Linked DNA regions of Homo sapiens: region 1 is linked to region 2. Evidence: promoter capture Hi-C in 16 types of primary human blood cells and fetal thymus (Javierre and others, 2016). All regions are on one chromosome and are shown on one strand. Each heading gives the region's core, a stretch centred on a gene start or on the middle of the fragment in contact. The rest is flanking DNA. Distances are from core to core; before and after follow the strand shown.

Region 1 (2,700 bases), core at 185-2,684, 170 kb before region 2:
GAAATAACATTTAATTTTGGAAAACCTTAAGCTTAAAGAACAATTTAAAAAATAGTTCCATGAATACCTGTATATCCTTTATCTAGATTTTCCTGTTGATATCATTTTGAAGGCATTTCCTTTACTCATCACTCTTTATGTTTCTTTGGGCATTTTGTTTGTATGTTTGTTTGCTGAATCATATGAAAGTAATATGCAAATAGCATGACACCTCACTGCTAAACACTTCAGCACGTATCTTTTAAGAATAAGAACATTCTTCTAGGGTATAGTATTATCACACCCAAGAAATTTAATATCAATATCCTAATATCTAATAAACAGATCAAATTTCAAATTTCTATTGGAATATATATATTTTATATATAACATATATATTATATATAATATATAATTCAGAACAGGTTTTTCATATCCAAAGGGGCAAATAAAAGGAAAGGCTAGGGAAACAAGCTACTGAGGTTATCTTCCCTTTAGAAATCAAAGGAATGAGAGTAAATAAGTTAATTTAAAATATATATATATAGCATATATTTTAAATTCTTTTTTAAAGGTGCTGTATTACAAACATTGTTGAAGGTACACAGGATGATATTGTGCAGGAAAAATACAGACACCAAAGACAGTCTAAAAATGATTCAGAAGAATCAGACATTGAATTTGAAGAAGTTTTAGGAATTATTGCAGCCATTTTATTTCAGTTATATTTTTCTTTTCATTTATGTACAAGCTTGATGTAGAATAAAATCTATGTCAAAATAAGTGTAAAATGATTAAAAGTCAAAGTGAAAGGAAAGCATTATGATGCAGTGTAATTGGCATAAATGTTTCTTCTTTGTGGTACATAAAATAATGGCACGACTTACATATGATAAAATACTCTAGGCAGCTGGGGCTTCAGTGACAAGGAGAAAATATGCCGGGACACGAACTCAGCCGTGCATCCTGGAGTGTAACTGCATGGCTGGCTCCCTCTCCAGCATCTATTTGGCTGGAAACAGCCTGACCGACTCTCACTCTCTTTCTCCCTCTTCAGGATGCCAGGCAGGCATCTGTAGCCTCTGTCTGTTGCAGAAGACCAGAACATGTCACCCTAAGATACGCCACTTTGGCATAAAAGTTATTTTGAGCTGAAGGCAATCGAGAAGAAGCAGATATAAGAAAAGGTCTCTGCTCTACCCCATTAGCCTAAAAGCAAGACATAAATTTACCAAGACTATGATGTCCATCGTTACCTCTCTACCAGAAAGAACAAAGGTTGTTCACTGAAGGCAACTTTAGATCCTTCTCATCCTGGAGATGGCACCGAAGAATCCACATGACAAATTCCCATTTCCTCGCCTTCCCTCAATTTGCTAACCCTAGAGACTCACAGTACTTTTCCTTTGGTTACTTCTCTAACAATTTGCTCTTCTTTGTTAAAAATGCCATATAAAACCAGAGTTCTAAGATACTTTGAGAATTTCTCATTTCCTGGGATCTCCTATGTATATATGAAATATACATGCTAATAAATTTGTTTGTTTTTCTCTTGTTAATCTGTCTTTTGCTACAGGGGTCCATCCGAGCTACAAACTCAGAAAGGTAGAGAAAAAATTATTTTTCTTCCCTTACACTGTGGTCATATTCTATCTTCAGATGGGTTGCAATACAAGTAATTTAAGTTCCTCTTTCTCTCTGGGTGGACAAATCCCCTTAGATATTCCTAAGCCATATCTGAGCCCATCTTTAGGCAGACATTTTCTGAGCTTTCTCAGCTGGCTAATCACAGACATTGCGGGTTTATCTTCCAACCACCATCTGCTCCTGCAGGGCAATCGGATTTCTGCTTTCAAGGATCACCTTCCTTGTCACCTTCTAAGTACTGGCTATAGGTGCATCTTTGCCTACTTGCCCTGGATTCCACTCTGCAAAAGTGAGTATTGTTGAAGTTAACTGGTCTCTCTCAGCTTGTCCCAACAGATAGACTCAGAGAACCCCTAAGCATTTGGTCTCCTGTTCAGGGAAAATTTAGAAATAGATGGCGTTGCCATTGACATCTTTTCACCTCCCACCACCATATGATTTCTCCTTCTCTTCTCCAGAAACTCCAAAAGCATTTCTCATTCTTTTTTTCTTTCTATCTAATACCAAGCTTCCTACCCTTGGAAAAAGTTTTCTGCTTAATTAACCCATGCACAGGGATGAATGATTCCTTTCTCTTTGTGGTTTGGAACATAGACTGTAGAGAAAGGGGAGGGAAGAAAGGTTTTGTTTTCTGTAAATACTCAGAAACCCTATAAACCCTTGCCAGAAAAGTGGGAACATTTTCTTGCTTGATAGATTCAGGGTTCTTTAGAGGGACCTCAAGAGCTGCTTAACCAAATACCTACCATTTGAGTGTGTAAATGCTTGCTTTCATTGAGTAAAGTAACATTAAATAAAGGCATTTAATTAAAAATTTTTAAAATCAATTTGAGTGGGTTGTATAGTTATTGTTTTTGGTTTTCTAGCAAGTTTTCTCCTGTTTCCCTTCTTTTGGAAGTGGACTCCCATGCCTGGTCATAAAGGCATGGATTCATGGCCTGGGTCAGCAAATCAGAGAATCCCATTTCCCTGGAGCTCGACCCAGCTGTGGCCAATAAAAATCCTCCTGTGGGAATCAGTCACGTTTCCAGGATGGTAGGAAAGAGACGCTGTCTTTTCAAGAAGCTTGCTGAA
Region 2 (2,739 bases), core at 90-2,589:
ATGAAATGTGTCAAAATGTCTAAGAATTCTATTAAATAGCATAATTATAGTATTATAAATATATACTTGCACAGTAATTTTAGCGCCAACTATGAATGAAGTACCAGAACATCTTTCTGTTGTTTTTCAAAAAGCTACACTAGGCCAGGCGCGGTGGCTCATACCTGTAATCTTACAGCTGCGGGTGGTGGTGCACGCCTGCAGACCCAGCTACTCCAGAAGCTGAAGCGGGAGGATACCTGAGCCTGAGGAGGTCGAGCCTGCAGTGAGCTGTGATGGCGCCACTACACTCTCCAGCCTGGGTGACAGTGAGACCCCATCTTGGGACGGGGGCGGGGTGCAGCAGATTTCATGAACAGTTTCATTCATTCATTTATTTATTCATACAGGGTATCACTCTGTTACCCAGGCAGGACTGTAGTGGCACGATCTCGACTCACTGCAACCTCTGCCTCTTGGGTTCAAGCGATCCTCCCACCTCAGGCTCCCAAGTAGCTGGGACTTGCAGGCATGTGGCCAACATTTACTTTTATTCTGAGACTACACAGAATAAAAGTAACTGCTGTAGAGCCAGCAGGCCAAATGAGATTTAATAGCTCACAAATTAACATAAAACACTGATGCCTCGGGGGTTACTGGAGGCCACAGGGACTGCTGAATATTACTACAGGAATACCTGAGTAGAAAGCGCCAAAAGAGACAAAGGTACTGGGTTGAGTGGAACTGTATACATTTTAACTCATTTAATGCTTGCATCAAACCTAAACAGGGTCTTATTTTCATTTTATCGAAGAGGAAATCAATCTGAGAAAAACTCAGGTGCTGACAACGGGCGAACCGGGATTCGAACAAAGTTCAGCCCGGAGCCTCGGACTCCCAGCTAATCGGCCGCAGCAGCCCCTCCCTCGGCGACGTAGGGAACCAGCCCTCTGCCGCGCACCACGGAGCCCGCATCCGCCCCCCGCGTAGTCCCGGCCCGGACGCGGTCTGCACTCACCCTCTGCGCTGTTGCGGGTCCTGCGGAAGTCCTCGGAGCGGCCGTCGCGGAAAGCTCGGCAAAGAGAGAGGCAGAGGAAATCGAGCATCCAGCCGGCAGCCACGGCCTCGGCCTCGGCCACCAGGCCCGCGTCCTCCTCCTCCTCCTCCTCCTCCTCGGGGGCCCCCACCTGCACCTGGCACTCGAGCAGTTCCTGGCATTCGAACTGCTCCTCGTCGTTTCTCTCTGTTTCTGCCATCTGCTCCTCAGTAGGGTCGGCATCCCTACCATCCGCACAGCCCCGCGGGCTCGGGGCCGCTGAGGAAACATCCTCCGCCATGTTAAATGGCTCGCTTGGGTACTGCCCCTTCAGGCGCCGAGCAACGATTGGCTCGCATTCGAGGGCTCGGGGCGTGGCCGCGGAGAGTCTCTTCCGCCGGCGGGACATGGGCGAGCGGTTCAAGCCTGGCTTCTGATTGGCCGACACCTGTTCCGGCTTCTGATTGGCCGACACCTGTTCCTGCCTCTGGGCGTTGAATTTGCCGCCAGTCTAGGGCAGGGCTTTGTAGGTAAACCGGACGACTCCATACTGAGCGAGGAGCGAGATTAGGATAGGAGGAGGCAGCTTTATCTTCCTTATTCCTTGTAAAATGCAACCTTGACTGGAACAACAACACGGTTATTTAAAATGAAAACGCATTTGCCTGCAGCCTATTTCAGAAAGAGATGGGTAATGAGAACTTGTCACTATTAGACAAGCGTAACACTTTTAAACCCTAGTTTTCATCTAACAGTTACTACGTGATCACGAACAACAACTATTACAACTGACAATATCCATGCTTCTCCAACCTTAAGATGCATCAGAATCAGCCTGGGGGCTTGCTAAAACACAAATTGCCGGGCTCCACTCCCAGAATTCCTGTTCTGCTGGTCTAGCTTGGGATCCTTGAATTTGAAAGTCCAACGCTACTTGGCTGGGCACCACATTTTGAGATCAGTGCTCTAGAAAGAGTATACTATAATGGAAATGTATCTCAATCAAGGTTTGAGATCGACTATAGAATGCAGTTTGTAGAAAACAAGTGAATGCTTATTTTGAATTTTGAAACTTAGCACAAAAAGAAATTCTAAATGGGGATGGGTGGTCTGGTTATTGTTTTTGTTTTTTGTTTGTTTTTTTTTTTTCCTTTGAGACAGGATTTCGCTCTGTTGCTCAGGCTGGTCTCCAACTCCTGGCTTCAAGTTATCCTCCTGCCAAAGTGCTGGGTTTACAGGCCTGAGCCACAACGCCTGGCTCCGTTTTCTGTTCCTTGATGTGGGTTCACTTTATGAAAATTCACTGAACATCGTTTATGCACTTTTCAGTATGTGTGTCATAATTGAATAAAAAGTTTATTTTAAAAGCCTTTCTGTTTATAACGCATCCAGCATCATCAAAGCCTTTCCACATTTTCACACACTTCTTGTTATTGTCTTTAAGGTGGTACAGTTTAAGTGTTGAGTAACTAAGGCACTGTATTCTAGTATTAAGAATGCTTAGGTTGGAATATTCCCTACCAGTTACTCACTAGCTGTGTGACCTTGGGTAAATTACGTGTCAGTTTTCTTGTCCGTATAATGTGAATAATAATAATACCTGCACGATTAAAGGGCTTGGTAAATGTAAAGAGTTTAAAACAGCCGGGCGCAGTGGCTCACACCTGTAATCCCAGCACTTTGGGAGGCTGAGGCGGGCGGATCACCTGAGGTCAGGAGTTCGA

The links. Contacts are between HindIII fragments. The CHiCAGO score rates a contact against its expected background, and 5 or more counts as called.
Region 1: a contact is called between a fragment that was not itself captured here and the fragment with the promoter of TERF1 in region 2, in 1 of 17 cell types (naive B cells). The highest score is 6.1, in naive B cells.

Annotation. Positions count from the first base shown.
Region 1 is chr8:73,180,511-73,183,210 of GRCh38, reverse strand. The region is part of intron 2 of LOC107986891 (a long non-coding RNA gene); the gene reads left to right. Among named protein-coding and RNA genes, the nearest start is that of C8orf89, 78 kb to the left of the region's middle. The HindIII fragment of the contact is 1,404 bases long and covers 733-2,136 here.
Region 2 is chr8:73,007,464-73,010,202 of GRCh38, reverse strand. TERF1 (telomeric repeat binding factor 1) reads right to left here and starts at 1,339. Exons shown (of 10, transcript NM_017489.3): 1 at 998-1,339. The coding sequence starts at 1,316. RefSeq lists silencers at 1,394-1,443, 1,474-1,573. The HindIII fragment of the contact is 9,695 bases long and covers 1-2,739 here.